Linked DNA regions of Homo sapiens: region 1 is linked to region 2. The links are contacts of gene promoters, found by promoter capture Hi-C in human tissues and cell types (Jung and others, 2019). All regions are on one chromosome and are shown on one strand. The core of a region is centred on a gene start or on the middle of the fragment in contact, and the rest is flanking DNA. Distances in the headings are between cores, read along the strand shown. Region 1 overlaps HOMER1 (homer scaffold protein 1). Region 2 holds the start of BHMT2 (betaine--homocysteine S-methyltransferase 2).

Region 1 (4,120 bases), core at 1,219-3,718, 340 kb after region 2:
AAGCATAGTTTTCATCACCAAGATTTCTAAAGTTTATCACCAGAAATATGACATATTAGCATCACGAACCCCCTGATATGATGTACAGAGAATGACACAAGATTGTGTCTGTAGTATTCTTGCAATAAATGCGTAACTTCAGTCAAACAATGAGAAAATATCATATAAACCCAAACTGAGGGACAATCTGTAAAATAACTGAAACTCTTCAAACATGTGAAGAAAATGAAGGAAACAGGAAATAACAGTTAAATGCAAGGTGGGATCTTAGGTAGGTTCCTAGAACAGAAAGGGAACATTGGTGAAAACTGAGGGTTAGTTAGTAGTATTGTATCAATGCTACTGCCCTGGATTTGATCATTGTATTATGGTTACACAAGATGTTAACATTAAGGGAAGCTGTGTGAAGTGTATACGGGCACTCTGTACAGTTTTTGTGATTTTTCTATAAGTCTAAAATTAGTTTAAAATGAAAAGTTAAAAATATTCCTAAAGTTTACTAAGTGAGAAAATATCATCAAAACATGAAAGGATAGAATCAAGCAACAAGCTAAGCTATTAACTTAACAATCCATTTCTATCCTGAAAAGGAAAGCTCTTTTCTTATTCTTCCTTTGTGAAATGATTTTTCAGATTCATGTCTTCTGAAAAAAGCATGCATGGATTCACCTGCTCTAACTGAATTATAGATTTTTCTTTAAACCACCTACCAGTTTTTCCCCTATAGAGATGCGTTTTATTTAAATGGAAACTTCAATCTGACGATTGACATCTTAGTGAACTAATTTAAACACTTGTTACATGTCAATAGCAAACACCTTTAAAAATTAACTGGAAGAAACAACAATTATTTACTCCTAAAATCCATTTGTCAAAATCACACAATTATAAAGTAAAATGGATTACCACATATTTATAGCAGGAGAAATAATTTTAAAATGAGGGTGTTTTTCTATTATATTTATGTGGGTTTTATTTTATAGTCACTAGACAGTAAAATCCATCAAGCATTTTATAACTGCTTACATCACAAGTATTCAGTAATTATCTGGGTAACCTCGGACCCAACACTCAAGCACTTTGGTTCTCAGTTCTTTATATGTCAAATAAATAGATCAGTCAAGATCTGTATTATCCAAATATTAGCATGTGGCTATTTAAATGTAATACTTCAAAATTAAAGTAAAAAATTCAGCTTTGAATTTGAGACACATTTCATGCACTCAACAGCCACACATGACTGGTGGCTACTACCCTGGACAGCAAAGATAACAGAACATTTCATCATGACAAAAAGTTCTACTGAACAGTACTGTTCAAGAGGATCTTGACATTCTGCCTTTTCTTTCTTTCTTTCTTTCTTTGAGATGGAGTTTCGCTCTTGTTGCCCAGGCTGGAGTGCAATGGCACAATCTCAGCTCATGCAACCTCCGCCTTCCAGGTTCAAGCGATTCTCCTGCCTCAGCCTCCCAAGTAGCTGGGAGGTGCCCACCACCACGCCCAGCTATTTTTTTTTTTTTTTAATATTTTTAGTAGAGATAGGGTTTCACCATGTTGGCCAGGCTGGTCGCTAACTCCTGACCTCAGGTGATCCACCCGCCTCGGCCTTCCAAAGTGCTGGGATTACAGGCATGAGCCATCGTGCCCGGTCCTGATTGCCTCTTCGATTCTGTGCGTGAGGCTGAACTGTGTCCCTCCAAAACTCATATATTGAAGTTCTAACTCCCAGGATCTCACAGTATGACTGTATTTGGAGACAGAGTCTTTAAAGAGGTAATTAAGGTTTAATGTGGTCATTAGGGTGGGCCATAATCCAGTATAAATGGTGTCCTTACAAGAGGAGGGGATTAGGACACAGACACACGAACATAAAAAGAGACGACAGCCATCTACAAGACGAGGAGAGAGGCCTCGGAAGAAATGACCCTGCAGACGCCTTGATCTCAGACTTCTAGCCTCCAGAACTATGAGAAAATAGATTTCTATAGTTTAAGCCATGCAGTCTACAGCATTTTTTAGGACAACTCAAGCAAACTAATAAACATAATTTTTTAAACCCACATTATGTAACCTATCAATTTGCCCCATCTTCCTGAATTGAAGTACATGGATTATATTTCCTGTTCTAATCAAGCTGGCTTTTCTGTGATGAGCTCTTCTTCTCAATCAGATTCTCATTTTTTTCTATGAATTTTTGTCCAATTTTTTCTATATTCAGAATCTATCAGATTGCATTTTTTCCTTTCATTGATTCAAGTTTTCTCCAACAAGTATTTTCCAGTTATTACACCCATCCTTTCACTTACCAGCAAAACCTGGTGCTTGCCAATCTGTGCAAGCTTAGTCAATGCACTAAATGAAAAGTAAAGGTATTCACTATGAAATAAGTGCAAGGCTAACCTCAGATCAAATCAATTAATGAGTAGTAAATTTTATAACACTAATTTTAATAAAACTTTCAACACTAATAAAAACCTCAAATATAAATATTTTAGCTCTCACATCAGGGATGGAATTTCACACTAGTTTTGGGTAGTAGAATCATATGGAGTTTCTTGACTCCCATTTTAAACTTATCAGGCATGCATATACGGTAACAGGGATTTCATCTATAAAACACTGTAGACCTGGAACATGGAGAATCTACAACAAACCTGTTTAAGAAAAGGTTGGTATTCCTGAACTAGTTGCCTTGTTTTGGCGTAATTTACAAGTTAATACCGATTGGCAGAAGTACTTTTTATATGAGTAGTCTAGGTAGTTATAACACCACATCAATTATTTTAAAACGCTTGACTGTTGAAATATATGTTTAGAGTAGGTTACTAGATTCTTCAAATTCATCCTAGCATTATCCAGTATTTTCATATTTGGTTGGTATTTAGACCCAAGGAAGCTCAAGTTTAAGATACAACTCTGGTAAAATCTTGAAATATACTATACGTTAATGATAAAATCTAGGTAAGTGTAATCATTTTATTTTCTACCTGTATCAAGAAGATAACTTCACAATTTCATGTTTGGAGTGGTACTTATGAGCAAGATGGCTACCACAAGCATTTCTAAGGCTCTTGGGAGCCAGAGATACAAAAGGGAATTTGTACCGTCTTGCAGGCTCTTTACCACAGACTTCTATCAGGTTCTCAGGAGAAAGATTGGAGAGGCAGAGAGAGAGACTAGAGAAAGGATCCTGGATGAGGGGAGAGACTTCCATTTGGGAAATTCACAAAGTCTAGCCAAGACCCTTCTTCTCCACAGGACCAAAATCTTAAACCAATGGGAGAAGGATACCCCTAAATCCTGTCATTCTCCCACTTAACCTGGATTCAGGTGAAGACCTGTTATGGCTGGGGGCAAAGAGAATAAAACACTGTAACTCTGTGAGAGGAACAGAAAATAGTCCTGGATTCAGAGGTCTCTAACCTGTGGGACAGAGGCAGGAAACTCCTACACAAGACTCTCAACTATCACAAGGCTGAATTTACCTGTTACTGGGAGAGGGGCAGGATCACTGAGAAAGCCTCATTTCTGAGATCCTGGGACAAAGGGTCTACCCAAGACTGAGGCTGGACAAAAACAACAGAGAACCCCATTCTGTCGTCTATTATAGCAGCCTTCCACTGCAGGAAGGTCAAGACTGTAGAGACAGACCTTCTTTGAGGTGTGCACACACACAAAAAAAGACCAAAAGATGAGTGTCGAGCAGTGAGTAGAACCCTCTAGCAATCCTAAGCACAAGGTAATGCTAGAGATGTTTAAAGGCTATAGCATACTCATAGTAACCATACCAACAACAAAATCAAAATCCCTTTCAACCCCCAAATGGACTAACTTTCATAATAACAGCCTAGCAGAAGAGTCATACCCATTTCTAGGAGGAAATAGTGTTCATCATTACTGTCCTCCACACAATGTTTAGCATTCAATGAAAAAAAAAATTACAAGATGTATCAAAAAGCAAGAAAAAAAAAACACTCCTCACTGTCAAGAAAGAAAGCAATCAACAGAATCATACTCAGAGATTAATCTGATCTTGATCTTGAATAAATCAAGGAAGTAAGATAGCAATGTTAAAGGTGTTAGTGGAAAGAAGGACATCACGTTCACTCAGATTGTGAAT
Region 2 (4,356 bases), core at 154-2,653:
TTCACATGCATTCTCTTATTTAATATTCACAGCAATCCTGTGAGTTATATAGAGCAAAATTAGTATCCTCATTTTATAGATGAGGAAACTGAACCTCAGAAGTGTAAGGTCACATTCTGTGTAACAGATGGCGCAGGAACTGTGAGTTGGTGGCTACTGCATTCCCAGTACTGGAGACAAACCTAGCACATCACAACACCCAGTAAATATTTGTTGAATGGATAGATGGAACTCAAAAGCAGGTCTTCTGATTCCAGAATTTCAGGTCATAGGACATAAAATAAAATTCGAATCAACTCATAATAATGTTGAGTGATGCTGATAAACAAGCCTTTCCTGGCAACCAGGAATAATCTACAAATATAAGAAGTCGAAAGATGTTCAGCATTGCTCATATTTAAATACAGACCAATCAAAACAAGGACATGCCATTTTTACCTATCAGATTTAGCAAAGATAACAAAATGGGCTATTCTGGGAACCAGGGAAGATGTGGGAAACAGACACACACTGGTGTGCCGCATGCAAACTCTTGCCACCCACTTGGAGAATGTGTTGCTGTCTTTCAATCTTTCAGATGCACGTAACCTTTTCCCTAACAAGTTCACCTTTAAAAACTGTTGCTACCGACTCCCATATGTACTCAAAGATAGATGCCTAAGAATTTTCACATGCACGTTATTTGCAGTAATAAACAACCAAAAACCATTTAAATGTTAATGAATAGACTAACGATAGTGTAGAATATTGACAGGATGGAAAACTATGCAGCCATTAAAAGGAACAAGGCAAGTCAGTGTGTGCTGATATGGAACAATCTCCAAGATATATTGATAATTGTAAAAAGCAAGATGTCAAAAAGCCAAAGGAAAACCTATACTGACCTGTGTTTGCCTATGCGTAGACTGTCTCTGGTTAGATTCAGAAGACACTATTAACAATTGTTCACTGGCCAAGGGGATTGGGGCAGGAGAGACTTTACACGGGGAACCTTTGGATACTGTTTCACTTTATAATTAAAAGATAATTCGAGAAGATATATCAAGGCCTATTTCTTGGAGGCCAGAGCGCTCCTAACCCCTGAGCCTGCCTCAGCCTCTGGCTCCCACCCCCGCAGCCGCCCCGTCGCCTCTGAGCAGGACGGGGCCCCACTCACCCTTCCCGGCCGCAGACAGAGCGCGGGCGCCCGGGGGAGCCCTGCAGCGGGCAGCTCCGCAGCAGGAGGCCCCGCAGCAGCTGCGCGCCGGGACGGAGCATGACTAGGCCGAGGCCGAGGGCGCAGGCGCCTGCTCCGAGGCCAGCGGGCAGCCTGAGGCCGCGGGGCCGGCGGGGCGGGGGTCGGATCCTCCCCCCGGGCTGGGGGCGGGCTCCTAGACGGCCGCGCGCCCGGGAACCCGGCGCCCACAGAGCCGCGGCACCATGGCACCTGCTGGACGCCCGGGGGCCAAGAAGGTGAGTTTCGTCCCCTCGATCCTCGCGGAGCTCCTGGCCGCTGGGCTGCGAGCGACTCCGTTCACACCCGGCGTCCATCCCTAGCCAAGCCCTGGGGCCTCGGCAAAACACTTGGACGGGATGGCCCTGAGCCTCAATTTTCCCCTGTCACGGGTTGGTTAGCGTTTATGGAGCCCTTACTCGGTGCCTGGCGCTGCACAGAGTGCTGTGCTCAAGTTATCTCCTCATCTTCACAATTATCCCCATTTCACAGGTGAGGAAACTGAGGCTCGGCGAGTCAGGCGACTAGCTCAGGGTCACGGGTCCAGCCCCGCGGGGAGCGAGGATCAGAAGTCTAGCTTTCGGACGCATGTCGCGCACACATTTTCTTCCCTCAACCGACCCTCGCCCGCAGCTCTTTGGGCTAATCCGTCCGGGAACTCTTCGGACTGTCCCCTCGCGTTTTGGAAAAGTCAGCAGCCTGGCCAAGCAGCCTGGCCTTGCGAGTCGCCGGCTGGTCTGAAACTAGTCCTGGGCAAGGACGCCCCCAGAGCTGCGGTGCAGGGTGGAGGGTAGGTGGGATTCGCTAGCACCCCTCAACCTCCTCTCACCCGGTGGTCCCCAGCTCCTGGCCCCTTTCCTGGTCTGGTCACCAGATGTTGGCTTTATGCCCAGCCATTTCTACGTCGAGTATGTGTGGGGGTGGGATGAAGGAGTGACTAAGCAAAATTAGGAAGGGCATGAGCTTGGACGAAAGACATCCCCAGGACCCTTCAGAGACCCCCACCCGCTCCAGCCCTGTCATTCAGAATGGGAGGAAGGGAGGAGGGGCAGTTTATGCGTGGAAATGTGCACCACCGAGCTATTTATACTAAAAAGTTAGAAACGACCAAGATACTCTGCAATACGGGATTCTAAATAAATTAAGGTTCATCTACTTAAGTTATTAGACAGTTAAATAACTTAGTATGAGAACCAGCTAAGTGCCTTGGCAATGTTAAGTTGCAAAAGGAAATATATCACAAACTGATCCCAACCATATACAAATATTTATATACACACTGTAAGGAAGGACACAATAATGGTAATAGTTACACAAGATGTGGAATATTGGTTTAAAAAGCATGTTTTAGGATATTTTTTCAGGTTATAAAAGCAAAATGTGAGCATTGAAAGAATACAGTTAATAAAAATAATCAAAGAACATTGTGCTTTTTTCTCTCAACTTTCTCTAATGCTATGTTCATCTTTACAGTTCATATTTTTAAACGTTTTTAAAATGCCCTGTTTTTGTTCAGTGTCTTTGGGGCCTCTACTGTTACAACACCAAGATTATCACACACTAATCCATGTGAATGTGTACCTGGGAGTTAAGGTGTTAATGGGAAGGAACTAATCTCACCTCTCTCCTCAGCTAGCAGGTACATTTTAAGAATTCATTTAATTGCCACAGACAAGACCTCCAATTAGGTCTTAAATCCAAAAGAGCAGTTCTGCTGGCAAATCTAGGAAAAGGGGAAGTTATTTTAGACAGACTGGGTTTTTCTGATCACCTCCTACTACACAGTGAAGTTGATCCCCACTGAGTATGAATAGAGATGTCTTGAAGCCAGATCTTAAACCCAGAGGTCTTACGTAGTGATATCTGCAAAAAGGGGGCATAAATGCACCCTAGAGCTCGCTGTCAGATGCAAGGCAGGTTCACTGCCAAACTGATGGGGAGGAGGGAATGAAAATATAAATGTACTGCAAAATTAATTTACAGGGTTCCTTATTTTACATGTTCCTGTCTTTATAATTTTACAGTTGACTTTAGATCGTACTAGTATAATGGTGAGGAACAACACACACTGGGGCCTATCGAAGGGTGGAGGGTGGAAGGAGGGAGAGGATCAGGAAAAATAACTAATGGATACTAGGCTTAATACCTGGGTGAGGAAATAACCCATATAGCAAACCTCCAATGATGCACATTTACCTGTGTAACAAACCTGCACATCCTGCACATGTACCCCTGAACTTAAAAGTAAAAAAAAAAAAAAAAAAAAAAACTAAAGAAGGGATCATACTGGTATAGTAATTAATTGAGGTAGTTAGAATAGCAGTGAAGGAAGGGCTAAAAGATGCTCTGATCTCAAATCTTGATAACTTAGTTATTTTGCTAATGGCTATGTAGAAAAATGGCAAATTGGCCGGGCACAGTGGCTCACACCTGTAATCCTAGCACTTTGGGAGGCCGAGGCAGGCAGATCATCTAAGGTCAGGAGTTCGAGACCACACTGGACAACATGGTGAAACCCTGTCTCTACTAAAAAATACAAAATTAGCTGGGCATGGTGGCATGCACCTATAATCCCAGCTACTTGCGAGGCTGAGGCAGGAGAATTGCTTGAACCCTGGAGGTGGAGGTTGCAGTGAGCTGAGATCGCGCTACTGCACTCCAGCCTGGGCGACAAGAGTGAAACTCTGTCTCAAAAAAAAAAAGAAAGAAAAGAAAAGAAAAATGGCAAATTTAAAATGGTGGACAAACATCCAGATAACAAATGAAAATGTCCTCCCTTTACTTGGTTTCATAAAGACACAGTCAAAATATATACTACAATTTTCTTAAAACCTACCTAATTGTCTGCTAAAGAGTAACATTTTTTCTTCTTCAGGACAAAAATTCTAGCATATGCAATACATCTGACATTTTCAAAACAGTCCTGTTTATTTGCTAATTCTTGGCATAGTTTCTTAAGTGTCTACTCATTTTAGTTGTTATATGTGGTGGTAGGGATATAGACCAATAAGATATGTCACCTGCCCCCAAGCCTCTTACAGTCAAACTGAGGTGACAAGTAAGTAACCAGATACTGCTGTACAGGGGGATGCATGAATGAAGGATCTGTGAAGTTAAGCAGGACACAAAAGGGGTATAATCAC

What was found. The method cuts DNA at HindIII sites, captures the fragments that hold promoters and counts their contacts. A contact is called where the count stands out against the background at its distance.
Region 1: a fragment that was not itself captured here is called in contact with the fragment with the promoter of BHMT2 in region 2 in 1 of the 25 tissues and cell types used here (dorsolateral prefrontal cortex).

Annotation. Positions count from the first base shown.
Region 1 is chr5:79,403,358-79,407,477 of GRCh38, forward strand. The region is part of intron 5 of HOMER1 (homer scaffold protein 1); the gene reads right to left. Among named protein-coding and RNA genes, the nearest start is that of HOMER1, 110 kb to the right of the region's middle. The HindIII fragment of the contact is 6,465 bases long and covers 1-4,120 here.
Region 2 is chr5:79,068,364-79,072,719 of GRCh38, forward strand. It overlaps BHMT2 (betaine--homocysteine S-methyltransferase 2), which reads left to right and starts at 1,404. Exons shown (of 8, transcript NM_017614.5): 1 at 1,404-1,452. The coding sequence starts at 1,420. It overlaps DMGDH (dimethylglycine dehydrogenase), which reads right to left and starts at 1,311. Exons shown (of 16, transcript NM_013391.3): 1 at 1,157-1,311. The coding sequence starts at 1,257. The HindIII fragment of the contact is 19,729 bases long and covers 1-4,356 here.